Linked DNA regions of Homo sapiens: all the other regions are linked to region 3. The links are contacts of gene promoters, found by promoter capture Hi-C in blood cells and fetal thymus (Javierre and others, 2016). All regions are on one chromosome and are shown on one strand. The core of a region is centred on a gene start or on the middle of the fragment in contact, and the rest is flanking DNA. Distances in the headings are between cores, read along the strand shown.

What was found. The method cuts DNA at HindIII sites, captures the fragments that hold promoters and counts their contacts. A CHiCAGO score of 5 or more calls a contact.
Region 1: a fragment that was not itself captured here is called in contact with the fragment with the promoter of SANBR in region 3 in 1 of 17 cell types (M2 macrophages); the score reaches 5.3 in M2 macrophages.
Region 2: a fragment that was not itself captured here is called in contact with the fragment with the promoter of SANBR in region 3 in 1 of 17 cell types (naive B cells); the score reaches 5.3 in naive B cells.
Region 4: a fragment that was not itself captured here is called in contact with the fragment with the promoter of SANBR in region 3 in 10 of 17 cell types (activated CD4 T cells, naive CD4 T cells, total B cells and 7 more); the score reaches 8.2 in activated CD4 T cells.
Region 5: a fragment that was not itself captured here is called in contact with the fragment with the promoter of SANBR in region 3 in 2 of 17 cell types (M2 macrophages and non-activated CD4 T cells); the score reaches 7.8 in M2 macrophages.
Region 6: a contact is called between a fragment that was not itself captured here and the fragment with the promoter of SANBR in region 3, in 2 of 17 cell types (M2 macrophages and M1 macrophages). The highest score is 6.7, in M2 macrophages.

Annotation. Positions count from the first base shown.
Region 1 is chr2:61,351,201-61,353,900 of GRCh38, reverse strand. All of the region lies in intron 10 of USP34 (ubiquitin specific peptidase 34), which reads left to right. Among named protein-coding and RNA genes, the nearest start is that of SNORA70B, 65 kb to the left of the region's middle. The HindIII fragment of the contact is 4,932 bases long and covers 1-2,700 here.
Region 2 is chr2:60,803,006-60,805,705 of GRCh38, reverse strand. No RefSeq gene overlaps it. Among named protein-coding and RNA genes, the nearest start is that of PAPOLG, 48 kb to the right of the region's middle. The HindIII fragment of the contact is 5,100 bases long and covers 1-2,700 here.
Region 3 is chr2:61,064,615-61,067,314 of GRCh38, reverse strand. It overlaps SANBR (SANT and BTB domain regulator of CSR), which reads right to left and starts at 1,444. Exons shown (of 22, transcript NM_001129993.3): 1 at 1,288-1,444. RefSeq lists silencers at 845-904, 915-1,264, 1,295-1,664 and enhancers at 554-1,053, 1,054-1,555. The HindIII fragment of the contact is 4,406 bases long and covers 15-2,700 here.
Region 4 is chr2:60,770,108-60,772,817 of GRCh38, reverse strand. PAPOLG (poly(A) polymerase gamma) reads right to left here. Exons shown (of 22, transcript NM_022894.4): 6 at 2,307-2,360; 7 at 1,188-1,299. Among named protein-coding and RNA genes, the nearest start is that of PAPOLG, 15 kb to the right of the region's middle. The HindIII fragment of the contact is 236 bases long and covers 1,185-1,420 here.
Region 5 is chr2:61,486,498-61,489,197 of GRCh38, reverse strand. It overlaps XPO1 (exportin 1), which reads left to right. Exons shown (of 25, transcript NM_003400.4): 18 at 427-610; 19 at 927-1,033. Among named protein-coding and RNA genes, the nearest start is that of USP34-DT, 17 kb to the right of the region's middle. The HindIII fragment of the contact is 1,111 bases long and covers 791-1,901 here.
Region 6 is chr2:61,377,793-61,380,492 of GRCh38, reverse strand. It overlaps USP34 (ubiquitin specific peptidase 34), which reads left to right. Exons shown (of 80, transcript NM_014709.4): 7 at 132-324; 8 at 2,069-2,130. Among named protein-coding and RNA genes, the nearest start is that of SNORA70B, 38 kb to the left of the region's middle. The HindIII fragment of the contact is 1,765 bases long and covers 506-2,270 here.

The DNA of each region.
Region 1 (2,700 bases), core at 180-2,679, 290 kb before region 3:
GTGTAGTGTATTGTTCATTTCAGTTGTTGTACCTTTCATTTCCATAATTTCTTTTTGGTTCCTTTTTATAATTTCTGTCCCTTTGCTGATATTCTCATTTTGTTCATGCATTGTTTTCCTGTCTTTACTCTTACTATCTTTGAGATAAAGTTTTTTAAAATCTTTGTCTAGTGGCTGAGTGGTGAGTCACACCTGTAATCCTAGCACTTTGGGAGGCCGAGGCAGGTGGATCACTTGAGGTCAGAAGTTTAAGACCAGCCTGGCCAACATGGCGAAACCCTGTCTTCACTAAAAATACAAAAAAAACCCAACTAAACAAAAAAAACAAAAACAAAAACAAAACTAGCTGGGTGTGGTGGCACACACCTGTGGTCCCAGCTACTTGGGAGGCTGAGGCATGAGAATCACTTGAACCTGGGAGGCACACGTGGCAGTGAGCTGAGATCGCACCACTGCACTCCAGCCTGGGTGACAGAGCAAGACTGTCTCAAAAAAAAAAAAAAAAACATTCGTCTAGGAAGTGCAACAGGTGGACTTCAGGTATATTTTCTGTGGACTTTTTGTTCTTTCCTTTTTTGTTTTGTTCCGCAAAAAAAAAGTACAACTCTAAGACCTCTAGTAATCATTTCAGATGGTTTGTGTTGAAACAATGGCAGCCAGCCTCTGTGCCTGTACCTCACCAGTCAGAATTAGCAATCAGCTAGCTGTCGGAACAGAGAATCTTGATGTTCAGGGACGTGGTCCTTACTGCCCACCTGTCTCCAGAAGCTGTACCAGAAACCTGTATTGTTGTCTCCGTAGCTGCCTGTCATTGCATGGGCAGGTTGGGAGTGTGCGTGTCAGAAATGGGTAGCAGTAGCAGCTATGGCATTGGAGGCTGAAATTGTTAAGTGTAGAAGTTCAGATTGACTCTAGAGTTTCAGGATACTTACATCTGATTCGGCTAGTACATTTTTTGTCTTGGTATAGTAATGGATTCCTGGCGTTTTCTGTTCTCCCATCTTCCCTGATATCCTTTTCTTTTTCGTCTTCATCGTCTTTGTTTTCATCGTCTTTGTCCTCTTCGTCATCTTTGTTTCTTCATCCTCCTTGTCCTCCTCCTCTTTGTCCTCTTCCTCCTCCTCTGCTGCTGCCACCACCACGCATTCTTAATAATATTTTTTGTGTACTGTGGAATTAAATAATGTACACATTTGAAAGAGTGGGTTTTTTTTTTTTTTAATCTCAGTTACAGGATTTTATGATTTTTTTTCTCAAGGGTCTTGTTACTTAAAAATAAGCTCAGTGGCTCATTCCTGTAATTTCAGCACTTTGCGAGGCTGAGGCAAGAGGATCACTTGAGCTTAGGCGTTTTAAAATTAGACTGGGCAATATCATGAGACTTCATCTGTATAAAACAAAACAAAAATAACCAAGTGGCAGATTAATACCCTAGAAACCCCAACAAGGTTTCAATAATATACTTAATTATCAAAATTAAGTATATTATGGAAATTTCATTATATTAATGGTTAAATTGGCAGAAAATTGGAAGTTTATTATGTATTACATATAGTGTATAGTTTAGTATATACATATACTATATATATAAACATGTATATATGTGTTTTTATCATATTTTAAGTAGAAAAACCATGTAAGAGTTACTTGTTGGCAAAAAGTAGAGAAAACTGTTAGTACAAATTGAGAATTCCTAATCCAAAACTCTAAAATTTGAACTGCTACAAAGTTTGAGATCTGAGTGCCAACATGGTGCTCAAAGAAGTACTCATTGGAACATTTAAGATTTTGGATTATTGAATTAGAGATCTTCAACTGGTAAGTATATAATGCAGATACTCCAAAGTGTGGAAAAATCCAAAACCTGAAACACTTCTGCTTCCAAGCATTTCAGATAGGGGATACTTAACTTGCATATTTTAATCTGTAATGTTATTTAATACTATATTTAAATTAACATTCTTAGTCAAGACCTGTAAAAGTGGTAAACTTACTGAGTATTCACTTGTCCTTAAAATCAAATACTGTTTGTAGTATTGAAGTACTGCCATTGTTTTTTAAATGGATACTTAGTGGTGTTAAAGTAAATAGCAGTAGAAGCAGATAGTGTAATTTATAAGAAGCCTCACCAAGATAGAAGAATTCCTGCAGTATTATGTTTTCTTACATGTATTTCACCTTATATTTCAGTATTAGGTTGTGCATATTTACCCTGAAAGAGAAGCAGCAGAAGAGAATTCATATGTGTATGCCTACAAAATATAAAAATCAGTATTTTTGAGTAAAATCTATATTTTAATAGATTTTTTTATGTATTAAAAGTAGGAAACTTTGCATTTGACAGCCCTCAAATTGGGAATTACTTGTCTAATCTTCTGTTTATTACCCTATCTTGATTTAGTAGTTAGCAGCTTCATGGCTGTAAAATACTTTTATTTTACATGACATAATATTTAGTGTTTATATCTTCATAAATATTGTCCCTCATGAATTTACATGTTTGTGTTTATTATAACAAAGAAGTCTTTGTATCTCATGGTTTATTATTTTATAGATCTTTATAAGGGTTTCTGTTGTGTACTCCAGTAAAATAAAAGCATTATATAAATACTTTATAAAGATTTAATAACAAATCTGGCACACCTGTGATAATTTACTTTTTTCTCCTAAGCGTAATTTATTGTCTTATTTGTATTTTAA
Region 2 (2,700 bases), core at 96-2,595, 260 kb after region 3:
GTGTTGAGATTCCACTTTACAGATTAGTAACCTTGAACCCAAAGGTTAAGCAATTTGTCCAAGGTCTCACAGGTGGTAAGAGATGTAGCTGAGGTATCTACGTAGGTCTGTGGGCTTCAAAGTCTGCAACATTCTCCTACCCCCTACTGGTTAGACAGTGGATATATTAGTTTAAAAGTCAAAAAGTTCAGCTGGGCGCGGCAGCTCACGTCTGTAATCCTGGCACTTTGGGAGGCCGAGGCGGGCAGATCTCCTGAGGTCAGGAGTTCGAGACCAGCCTGGCCAACATGGCGAAACTCTGTCTCTATTAAAAATACAAAAATTAGTTGGGCATGGTGGCACATGCCTGTAATTCCAGCTACTCAGGAGGCTGAGACAGGAGAATCACTTGAACCTGGGAAACAGAGGTTATAGTGAGCTGAGATTGTGCCAGTGCACTCCAGCCTGGGCAACAGACCGAGACTCTGTCTCAAAAAAAAAAAAAAAAAAAAAAAAATCTACTTTCCTATTTCTCATTCTTGATATCTGCTCCCTAGAGGCAAACATTTTCATAATTTTAAGACTTTTCTCCTACTGATTACTTACAAATTTCTAAATAACTTGCATATATTATCCTAGATTTTTGTCTTAGATATTTACTACTCACTGCCACTGAAGATGAGGATTTCACTCTCACACCCTGTCCTACCTCCCTCCCCGATTCTTCCGAATATAGTTACAATTTTTGGCTAGTTCAATATTCTCTATTCTCTACTTGTAAAGACTATGTGACCATTCACAGCCAAGCCACTGATGGCAGCAGTGGCCCACCTGGAGCGGCTGCAGCAGGGAAGGTGCGGCCAGGGCTGCGTGTGCCATGGAGCCAGCAGGAGCCTGGAACAGGCGGGACCCCTGCCCACTTCTGAATTGGAAGGGCAGGAGCCTGATGTTCCTGGGTGCAGCTGCAGCCACCCAGTCACGACTGCGGACCCAGGCATCCCTAGCTTTTAGGGACCTGGGAAGCCCCTCTTCCCCGACAGGCTCGGAAGTGCCTGCTCCCGCTGCTTGGCCTTTCCCTGCTCCCGGCTCCCACTCCAGGGTAGAGCAAAGTTGGAGCCGAGCTTGGGTGCTGTCACGACCCGGCCAGGTGTGTGTGCGCCCGGAGTGGCGCCGACACACCAGCCCCCTGCTGCCTAAGCCCCTCCGGACTTTGGGCACCGAGGAGCACAGGATGGGGGCCAAGGGGGTACTGACGGTGGCTCCACGTGGGCCTGCAGGTGCCCCTTGGTAGGAACAGCCTGGGCACCTGCCTGCCTCAGCCTCCCACAGTGCTGGGATTACAGGTGTGAGCCACTGTGCCCGGCACAGACAACGTGTCTTAATGGCCTCAGGAAGTTTTGTTTGCCTTCTTGCATCTTAGTTCCTTCATTGGGCTTCTCTTTAAGATAATCCTATTTAAATTTAAAAACAAAACAATCCTACCCCTCAAACCAAACAAGGACTCATGTGTTTTCCTCTTAAATATTTTCTGGGTATTCACTACATAAAGATTTTTGGATAAAGCTCACTTTCTTTTTTTTTTTTTTTTTTTTTTTTAAGACATGGAATCTCACTCTATCACCCAGGGTGGAGTGGAGTGGCGTGATCATAGCTCACTGCGGCCTTGACCTGCTGGGCTCCAGCAGTCTGTCCACCTCAGCCTCTTGAGTAGCTGGGACTACAGGTGAGCACCACCACACTGGGCTAATTTTATTTGTAGAGACACTATGTTGGCCAGGCTGGTCTTCAGCTCCTGGCTTCAAGCGATCCTCCTTCCTTGGTCTCCCAAAGTGCTGGGATTACGGGCATGAGCCACTGTGCTTGGCCGGAGGTCACTATTCTCAAACCTACAATCTTGTCAGGGGAAACAGGTAAACTGAGCATTACACAAGTCAGAATAATTTAAACGTTCAAACGTACAAGTAACATACTGAAAAGGTAAGAGTCTGGCTAGGGTATCATGGAAGTCTCTATGCAGCAGTAAGCCAAAAATGTCAATAATCAAAGATTGGCAAGGAAGGCCCTGAAGTATATATTTTTAAACACTATCCATTAAAACAGTTTGGTTGGATCATATGGTTTGAAAGATGGTTTTTAGGATAGGGGATTAAAAAGCAGTACATTATTTTATTTTTATTTTTTGAGATGGAGTCTCACTCTGTCTCCCCCAGGCTGGAGTGCAGTTGTGCGATCTTGGCTCACTGCAGCCTCTGCCTCCCGGGTTCAAGTGATTCTCCTGTCTCAGCCTCTCAAGTAGCAGGGATTACAGGTGCATGCCACTACCACCTGGCTAATTTTTGTATTTTTAGTAGAGACGGAGTTTCACCATGTTGGCCAGGCTGATCTTGAACTCCTGACCTCAGGCCATCCACCCGCCTCAGCCTCCCAAAGTGCTGGGATTACAGGAGTGAGCCACCATGCCTGGCCCAATATATTTTTCTTTATTTTTTGAGACAGGATCTCACTCTGTTGCCCAGGCGGGAGTGCAGTGGCATGATCTCGGCTCACAGCAACTCTGCCTCACAGGCTCAAGCAATTCTGCCTCAGCCTCCTGAGTAGCTGGGATTACAGGTGCATGCCACTACCACCTGGCTAATTTTTGTATTTTTAGTAGAGACGGGACTTCACCATCTTGGCCAGGCTGGTCTTGAACTCCTGACCTCAAATGATCCACCTGCCTCA
Region 3 (2,700 bases), core at 195-2,694:
AACACTTAAAAGCTTACATTTCAAATGTGATACTAATTTATGCTATACATGTTTAAGAGTACTTTAAATCATCCAAATGAGAAAAAAGTTTTTCTGTTGACTTTCTCTTTATACAACTGTACTAGGCAAGGGAAGACCCCCCAGCATTAATTCTAGTTAAATGAATGTCCAAGAAATCAGAGTCTGAATTTAAGTATAAAAGGCATAGCATTGATGGATAATCCTTAATAAAACATAAATTATCTCGAAATAGCTGTTATAGTGCACCTCATTCAGGAAAGTATAAATTTATCAAAAACGGTGACAAGAAAAAGCTCAAAGTTCAAATTACTATGAAATCCACTCCCATTCATAAAATATCAAAATCTTGACAATATTTAAGGTAAAATACGTTATTTACCAAAAATAAAAATCCAATATGTTTAACAGACTTCATTTTTTAAGAACATACTTCCCCTCCCCTCCCCGACCCCCTTCTCTTGGTTTATGTATTTAATATACATGTATTAATTAAGAAGACTAGTCTAAGTCACTTCCACACCAGATAGAGGTCTACAACAGGAATCTGATATATTTTTTTCTTATTTCAAATAGAAAAAAAAGCTCTTGGAGACAGAGACGTTTTCCCTTAGCCAGTGGAAAGATGGGAAGAGAGGGGGCCCCGTGGGGCAGGCAGGCAGGCAGGTCAAAGGCCTCTGGCCTAACAGAGGGCGGCGGTAACACCGAGTCATCCCGGACCGGGAAGAAGCCTTGTACCCAGGCTTCCTGACTTCTGCACACACAGGAGATCGGAGTCAGCTGGAGGAGAAAGTAAAATCACATCCCAGAACCGGCATGAGGTCAAAGCCAGTCAAACCTTGGGCCCGGAGGCTCACTACGCGGCGCGTCCTCGGGGCACCCCCAGACCTTCGCGCCCCGCTCCCGCCCGTGGAGGCACAGAAACTCCAGGGGCGCAGAGCGGACAAAGGCGCCGGGCAGCGGGAGCGAGGCGGGGCAGAGGCCCGGGGCGCGGCCGGGCGCGCAGAAGCTGGGGTTCCCGCCGCTGTGCGCGGGCGGGACGGTCTGCAGGGACATGGACCGGGCGGGTGACGGGACGCGGGCCAGCTGGCTGCTCGAGGCGCGGCCGGCTGAGGCTGTGCACGGGGGCGTTCGGGGGCGTTTGGGCAAGTGGGACCCCGCCCGGGGTGGGAAGCCGCGGCGGGAGCCGGCTGGCTGTGAGCGGTACCGCCCCATGCCGCACTTCCCGCCCCGCGGTGGGCACCCGAGCCCCCTCGGCGTCTCGCTCACCTCCACAGGGCCGCGGCTGCCCTCGCAGCGCCTCTGTTACCTGCAGTGGTCGGCACCGCCCGCGCTCGCGCCCTGAAGCTGCCGCTACCGAGCCCGCAACCCCGTCCGCAGCGCCTCACACCCCGCCCCCGCCCGCTTGCAGGCGGCTGCGGAGACTAGCGCCGAGGGGTGGGGGAGCCGCCGAGCCGACGCCGCCCGGCCAATCGCGGGCCAGCGCCGCAGCGGCGGAGCCAATGAGCGCCGAGCCCCTGCCGGGCGGGAGGGCACCGGAGGGGCGGCGGCGGCTGACTGTCGCCTTGCCTTGCCTGCTGCTTCTCCTTCCTCCTCTGGCATACACTCCCAGGCTTGTCGCAGTGCAGCGTCCCCACCCTCCCAGCGTCTTGTCTCTTAGCAACCAGATCCTAGGAGCCTGATCTTAGGTGACCAACCCTGAGTCCAGAAGAAAGGGGGATATACAGGAGATAAAAGATTAAAGAATGGATGAAATTGTTCTTGGTGCAGATCATTTGGTACACCGCTTAGGTAGAGCGGAAAGATCGCATGATGAGGGACACCGAAAGTATCTTTTAGACCAAGGTCTTTGGGTAAGGACCTGAAGTGTCTTTACCAGGAGGTAGCTCTTTAAAAATGTAAATAGCTCTGGATTACAAATTCGGTTTTCATACATTAATAGGGTGTGTGTGTGTGTGTGTGTGTGTGTGTGTGTGTGTTATTGTGAGGAACACTACTATTGGGCATCTAGTAAAATGCAAACGGCTCAATATTGTAGGGTAACTGCTACATGTCAACATTTCTATCTAATTTCCACTTGGTCTATTCTGAGAACCAAAATTAAATGTTAGGATTAGAAAGAACAGAAAAAGTAAAGCCTTAACCAAATGAATAATTACTACGAGATCTGATGATTAAGTAGAGATTAAGTGGTTCACTGTACAGAATGTCAGGAGTTTTTACCAATTGTATCATCCTGTGACTTTCTGCAGATCTTTTACGATTTTTGTTCCACAAAGACATTAAAGTGGCTGGGTGCGGTGGCTCACACCTGTAATCCCATAATCCCAGCATTTAGGGAGACCAAGACGAGAGGATTGCTTGAGCACAGCCTGAACAACAAAGTGAAACCCTGTCTCTACCAAAAAAAAAAAAAAGTTGTTTTTTTTTTAAGTTAGCTGGGCGTGGTGGCCCCAATGAGCTATGTTTGCACCACTGCACTCCAAGCTGGGCAACAGAGTGAGACCCTGTCAAAAATAAAAATAAAAATAAAGTTAGGCAAGTGTCGTATCATAAGATGTTAGGTTAAGTCAGGTAAATTCTTTTTTTATTTTTTTGAGATGGAGTCTTGCTCTGTTGCCCAGGCTGGAGTGCAGTGGCACCGTCTGGGCTCACTGCAACCTCCACCTCCCTTCAAGCGAT
Region 4 (2,710 bases), core at 53-2,552, 290 kb after region 3:
TTATCTGAAAAGGCTATTAAAACACTCCTCCCTTTTCCAACTAAGAGGACAGATTTTTTCTTTCTTTTTTGAGACGGAGACTCGCTCTGTCACCCTGGCTGGATTGTGGTGGCATGATCTCAGCTCACCACAACCTCCGCCTTCTGGGTTCAAGTGATTTTCCTGCCTCAGCCTCCCGAGTAGCTGGGATTACAGGTAAGCACCACCACACTTGGCTAGTTTTTTATTTTTAATAGAGATGGGGTTTTACCATGTTGTCCAGGCTGGTCTCAAACTCCTGACCTCAGGTGATCTGCCTGCCTTGGCCTGCCAAAGTGCTGGGATTAGAGGCATAAGCCACTGTGCCTGGCCTCTTTTTTTTTTTTTTTTTTGAGACAGGGTCTCACTCTGTCACCTAAGCTAGAGTGCAGTGGCGTAATCACGGCTCACTGCAGCCTCCACCTCGGGGGCTCAGGTGATCCTCTCACCTCAGCCTCCTGAGTAGCTGGAACTACAGGCGAGTGCCACTACATCCAACTAAATGTTTTTTATTTTTGGTAGAGATGGGGTTTCACCATGTTATCCTAGCTGGTCTGGAAACTCCTGGGCTCAAGTAATCCATTCACCTTGGCCTCCCAAAGGGCTGGGATTACAGGCGTGGGCCACCACGCCCGGCCAGATTTTATTCTTATATGTTAACCAAAACAAAATATTACAATCAATTGTAGACACAAATGAGAATCTAGCTGTCTTCTATCAGGCCTAATATTAAAGAGACTTGCAAAATGTTAAAAAAAAAAAAGAAGCCATTCTTCACACACAAAAGTTTATATTAATTTAAAATGGGTTCATTATTTATAAATGAATAAGTACTTTTTAAATTTCTCAGTTTTTATTTTTTAACATGGTAAATATTGACAGATATAACCCACATAAACAAAAGCTTTTTGGGGTCCTCCATAAATCTTAAGAGTGTAAAGAAGTCTTGAGACCAGTAAGTTTGAGAACCAGTAATATAAATATACACAGCCTTTCAAATAAATTTGTGGTTTTTAGGATTCTTAAATGTGGTCACATTATCTGTATAAGGAAAATTACATTTTAAACTGAGTCCAATCTCCAAAACTGAATAGTCAATTCAGCAAAAATATCTATATTTCTCTAATTGTTCTGAAGCAGGTATCTGAGATTTCTTTTTAGAAGCTTACCATTTAAGCTGCGAATACACCTTATATCAAGGCTTCTCAGGCGAGAGTCGTCTCTTAGATCTAAATTATCTGATATGGTTTGTATTGCCAGTCTTGCAAAGACTAGATCAATCTTTGGAAAGATGTGAAAAAAGAGAAAAAAATTACATTTTCTCCTTTTAATCCATCCTCTCCCATCCCACCAAAAAATGTGAAAAGCTCTGGTTATGAGTTTGGGAAGTTCTACCAAAGCTTCGATAGGCCTATGTAGGCAGTCTCACATGGGAAAATCACTATAAAGTTGTGTTAAGGTAATTAAACTTTCAATTAATGAAAGCATTTAAATGTTAACATATATGCCAAGCAGAAAAAAAAATCAAAGCCTTATGAGCAAATTTCTAGATAAAGATAGAAGATCCAACACACATTTACATTCACTCCCTCTTGAAACCTCACTAAAATACCACGAAAATTCAATTTTATTTTTGTGTTTAGTATTATTTTGATGTTAAAGGCAAAATTCACTAGGACAAAGAACAGAAAGTGACAAACAAAAGCTATGAAAGCTGGAAAGCAGATGGACAAGTGGTAACAGACCCAGTAGACCTAAGAAAGCAGATAAAAATGTCATATCTAGGAAATAAGGTCAGGAGGCTGTAAATAAATGCAGACAAAAATAAAAAGGAACATTTAAAGAATAAAATAGTATTCTTAGAAATTAAAAATATGGGCCAGGCGCGGTGGCTCATGCCTGTAATCCCAGCACTTTGGGAGGCCAAGGTGGGCGGATCACGAGGTCAGGAGATTGAGACCATCCTGGCTAACACGGTGAAACCCCGTCTCTACTAAAAATACAAAAAATTAGCCAGGTGTGGTGGTGTGTGCCTGGAATCCTAGCCACTCAGGAGGCTCAGGTGGAAGGATCACTTCAACCCAGGTGCTCAAAGGTGCAGTGAGCTATGATTGTGTCACTATACTCCAGCCTTGGCCATAGAGTTAGACCCCATCTCTTCATTAAAAAAAAAAAAAGAGATTACTTGATTTTTTAAAATATGCATTTATGTTAAGCCTGATTTCAGAAAACAAACTTACAAGTTTAAACAGTTCAATTGTAAAGTCAGAAAAATATTAAACACTTACTTCAATACCATCAAATTCAAATTTTATAACAGGTACAAAGGCATCTTCTACAGCCTACAAAAAAGGAAAACAATTATAACACATAGGTGTAATCCCTTCTTTATCCTTCCTAACTACCAATAATGTGAATATCTTTACTCCCGATTTGTATTTTAACCACATAGAAGTAATCCCTTCTTTATCCTTTCTAACTACCAATAATGTGAATATCTTTACTCCCGATTTGTATTTTAACTCAATAGACAAAGTGAAAATGTTTCTGGTCTTACATTCCAGGTAAGTATTTCTACTTTGTGACCTGTATTATGTAAGATACACAAAATGCCTGTTACAGTATCTAATTTATTATCCCTCTAAAAATATTCCTCAGAACTGGAAAGCAAAACTGCTATCGTCTGCAGCCA
Region 5 (2,700 bases), core at 97-2,596, 420 kb before region 3:
AGGTGATGCACCCGACTCAGCCTCCCAAAGTGCTGGGATTATAGGTGTGAGCCACCTCGCCTGGCCATTATGATGGATAATTCTTTTTTTTTTTTTGAGACGGAGTCTTGCTCTTTCGCCCAGGCTGGAGTGCAGTGGTGCGATCTCGGCTCACTGCAAACTCCATCTCTAGCGTTCACGCCGTTCTCCTGCCTCAACCTCCCGAGTAGGTGGGACTACAGGCGGCTGCCACCACGCCTGGCTATTTTTTTTGTATTTTTAGTAGAGACGGGGTTTCACCGTGTTATCCAGGATGGTCCCGATCTCCTGAACTCATCATCCGCCCGCCTCGGCCTCTCAGAGTGCTGGGATTACAGGCGTGAGCCACTGTTCCCAGCCGTGGATAATTCTTATATGATAAATGGAATTTGCTTTTTTTCCTCCAAGAATGTGGATATACTGAAAGATCCTGAAACAGTCAAGCAGCTTGGTAGCATTTTGAAAACAAATGTGAGAGCCTGCAAAGCTGTTGGACACCCCTTTGTAATTCAGCTTGGAAGAATTTATTTAGATATGCTTAATGTATACAAGTGCCTCAGTGAAAATATTTCTGCAGCTATCCAAGCTAATGGTAGGTGATTCTGATTTCTTACACAATGCAGTATAAACAAACCACTTCTCTTCTACTGCCTTAAGTCAAACATTTGATGTTTTTTACAGATTTAAATCAGACCTCCCATTTCCCAAATGACCCTAGACATATTTAAAACAGTTAAGTGTACCTTTCCCTTTTAAAATTAGTCTTAAAGCTTATTTTCCCAATAAATTTTGTGAACTTTTGGCTTTAAACTTTTTAATGGTAAAATGGAATTGCATCTAATGTACACCTGAGTACCACTGTATAAGTTTAGTGGTAAAATTAGATTCCATTTGATTCTGTTTTGTAGGTGAAATGGTTACAAAGCAACCATTGATTAGAAGTATGCGAACTGTAAAAAGGGAAACTTTAAAGTTAATATCTGGTTGGGTGAGCCGATCCAATGATCCACAGATGGTAAGTGAGAGATGCTTTGCTTTTGATTTCTAGTGTTGATGCTGTGTTTTATGGAATATGCTATACTCTATTATGTGCATTTTGCTAATTTAAAGCATATCAACTTTGTGGTTATTTTATGGCATTTTATTTATTGTAGTCCTTACGTTAATATACTAATAGCTGTATTCCATCTTCAAAAGAAACTGCTGTTAATCAGTAGCGAAGGGTGGTGATATGTAACAAGATAGCTAAGAAAATTGGGTCATTTTATGTTTCCATAGATAGGTTAGGAGGATTTAATTAATGGAGTACCGGTGCAGTTTTTGCATTCCTCTTGATTTTTAGAACAATTGCTAGAGCTACAAAGTTGTCATTACTTTACCTCTTTAGCAAAGTGATTGCTTCCCAGATTAAAGGCCTGAAAGTCTTTTTTACACCCTTTTTCCTAAATGATTTGCAGAAAAGGAAATCATTTTCAGTAATAAAAACCAGCTGCGTATGCCTCAACTTGTAAAATTGTGAATTAGTTTTAGGTTTTAACTGTATCGTTTCATTCTTGTTATTCAATTGAGCCTTGGGAGAGTCCAAAAAATTCTAATACTACTATTACTTGGAATAGTGTTGGTTTTTTGTTTTTTGGTTTTTTTTTTTACAAGTGTGCTAGTTATTTTCATAGTTTTGAAATTTCAGTATTGTTTCTTGTTAAGGAAATACTTTTCAGTAAACTTGTTCTGAATATAATTCTTGTGGAATACTTAAGTTGGCTAACCTAAATATCGAAAGGTTCTGAACATGCGTATTATGTGAACAGAACTGTATTTAAAATTTGAAAGCAGAAAGTAAGATGTATTGAAGGAATTGTGATGTTTGTAATTTACAAGAAGCTTGAGCACGTGTCGGGAGCACAGTGGGAATAATACAAAGGGTATCATCTTTTGTAACATTAATGTTAAAGTTTGGGATATTTGTTCACATGAAACATTGTGTTTATTTTCCTTGTCTTGGCTTTTCACGGTGGCTCATGCCTGTAATCCCAGCACTTTGGGAGGCCGAGGCGGGTGGATCACTTGAAGTCAGGAGGCTGAGGCAGGAGAATCACTTGAACCCCAGAGGTGGAGGTGACAGTGAGCCAAGATTGCGCCATTGCACCCCAGTCTGGGCCACAAGTGGGAAACTTCGTCTCAAAAAAAAAAAAAGAACAAGAAGTTACTCTTTAAGTATAACTCAGTTTACTTAGAATCATGAAAATCTTACTGGGCATTGTAGCATGCACCTGTAATCCCAACCACCAGGGAGGGTAAGGCAGGCGAATCACCCCAGCTCAAGTCCAGTTTAGGCAACATGGCAAGATTCAGTTTCAAAAAAATAATAGAAATCCATAGTCTTTCTTATTTTCTGAGAGTAATTGATTGATGTTATTTCTGCTTGTGAAAATACTCACCAGTTAGCATTCATTAGATTAAAACATTAGTCTGAGTTGGGTGGATCACGAGGTCAGGAAATCAAGACCATCCTGGCTAACACGGTGAAACACCCCGTCTCTACTAAAAATATAAAAAATTAGCTGGGCGTGGTGGCAGGTGCCTGTACTCCCAGCTACTCGATAGGCTGAGGCAGGAGAATGGCGTGAACCTGGAGGCGGAGCTTGCAGTGAGCCAAGATGGCACCACTGCACTCCAGCCTGG
Region 6 (2,700 bases), core at 139-2,638, 310 kb before region 3:
GGAAAACCAGAGGTTTGTGGGTTTTGGACACAAAAAATGTTAATGCTTACAATGTACATTTTAAGTTACTGAGTGGTCTTTAAAAATGCTTTATGAATTTTTGTGTATTTTCTATTTCTGAATCATTTCAGGTATTTATGCAAGCTCTCGGATCAGGAGTTACGACAGAGTGCAGCTCGTAACATGGCTGACTTAATGTGGAGCACAGTCAAAGAACCATTGGATACAACATTATGCTTTGATAAAGAAAGCCTAGATCTTGCATTTAAGTACTTTATGTCACCTACTTTGACTATGAGGTTGGCTGGATTGAGTCAGATAACAGTAAGCTGTATTTGTTTTATTTTTGGTCATCGTTTATTTGTTTTCTGGTCTATCATAATACTACCCACTATTTATGGAGCACTTCATACTAGGCATTGTGCTAAGTATTTTATGTGGATTACTTTATATGGTCTTCACAAATAATTTCTGTGTTTCTCTTATTTTAAATAAGTCTGAAGCTTAGATTTATATGGATTTATACTGTGGGTCCATTTGATTTCCGGGTCCAACTCTTTCATCATTTTGTTTCTGTCTTTTTAAACTATTTAGGTTTTTATGTTTATAGATGTTTTGAGAAAGAGGAATAATTGGAGGGCTTTATAAGCAGTTAATTAATTTTCCAGGCAGAAACCATAGATTATTGGGCCGTAGGCCAAATTTTACTAAATGTTTGTTTTGAATAGTCTTAAATACTGTTTTTAAATAGGACAAAGTAACATGAAAATCTGTATTCTTGGCTTCTCTTGGTGAGGGGGTTGGAAGAAGGCCTGGTATTCTTGGGTCTGTATTCTTGCATAACAACAGTCTGTTAGAACTAAGTAATTAACTTTATCCCTCAGAATGAATATGCTTTCTCCGGTTTGTTGCAGTCCCCATTTGCTTTACTCCTTTACATTTCTGGGTTTTTGTTTTGTTTTGTTTTGTTTTTTGGTTTTTCTTGGAGATGGAGTCCCATTCTGTTGTGCAATGGCATGATCTCGGCTTACTGCAACCTCCACCTCCTGGGTTCAAGCGATGCTCTTGCCTCAGCCTCCTGAGTAGCAGGGACTACAGGTGTGCGCCACAACACCCAGCTAATTTTTTGCATTTTTAGTAGAGATGGGTTTTTACCGTGTTGGCCAGGCTGGTCTGGAATTCCTGACCTCAGGTGATCCACCCGCCTCATCCTCCCAAAGTGTTGGGATTACAGGCGTGAGCCACCCCACCTGGCCACATTACTGTTTTTGTTTTGTTTTGTTTTGGTAGTGTAGTCACACTGAAAATGTGAAATAGGTGGAGTTTACTTGTGTACCGGGTTTCATAAATATAAAAGATACTTGTTGATATTGTCCCAGATAAATTAAATCTTGAGTGGATTTATCTGGGGAGTCTTTCCTGAAACTTTGTCTATAATGACATATTACTTGCTCTCTTGCGTTAAATTGTTGTGTTTTTTTACTTACTCAGCTTTATTTTCTCCAGTGCACTTAGTGTAATAAAGAATACTATTTGTGGAATGAATTTAGTGTTGTTTTTTTTTTTTTTTTTTTTTTTTCGTTTTTTTGAGATGGACTCTCACTCTGTCGCCCAGGCTGGAGTGCAGTGGCGCGATCTTGGCTCACTGCAACCTCTGCCTCCTGGGTTCAAGTGATTTTCGTGCCTCAGCCTCTGAGTAGCTCGCGTTTTAGGCGCATGCCACCATACCCAGCTAATTTTGTATTTTTAATAGAGATGGAGATTTACTGTGTTGGTAAGGCTGGTCTCAGAGCTCCTGACCTCAGGTGATCCACCTGCCTTGGCCTCCTAAAGTGCTGGGATTACAGGTGTGAGCCGCTGCGCCTGGCCATTATTTAGTATTTTAATATAACAGAAATAGTTTTAGTAATTGGGAAGCGTGTGTCTCTGATTATGTCTTAGATTTTATAATATTAATCTAGTTATTGTGATCTACATATGTCAATCAGTTTACCATGTTAGTATTTGCTGACAAATGCAAGAATAATTTTGGAAATAAAAACCCTTAATTTCTTGTCTTTAATCATAGAATCAACTCCATACCTTCAATGATGTGTGCAATAATGAATCATTAGTATCGGACACAGAAACGTAAGTAGGAGCATTAATTTATATATAAGTATACCATTTTAATGTACAGTTGTTTATATGGTAAATTCTAATTTTTAGATTTAAAATTTTTACTAGAAATTCTTTGCCCTTTGACATTGTGTACAGTTCTTCATGAAGCTTTCAGAACATTATGCTGTCTGTAACATAACTCACTCTCCCTCTTTTTTTTGAGACAGGGTCTTGCTCTGTTGCCCAGGGTGGAGTACAGTGGTGGGACCATGGCTCACTACAGCCTCAAGTTCCCAGGGTCAGGTGATCCTCCCACCTCAGCCTCCCGGATAGCTGGGACCATAGGCGCATGCCAGCATGCCTGGCTAATTTTTGTGATATTTGCAGAGGCAGAGTTTTGCCATGTTGCTCAGTCTAGTCTTGTAGACTCAAGCCATCCACTTGCCTCAGTCTCCCAAAGTGTTGGGATTACAGGCGTGAGCCACTGTGTCTGGCCACATTTCTCTCTTTTAAAAGCGTATGCGAACATATAGTACTATTTGTCACAGTATGAAAGCATACTGTTTATACTGGAGAATTTAGTCTTGAAAAATATGGTAC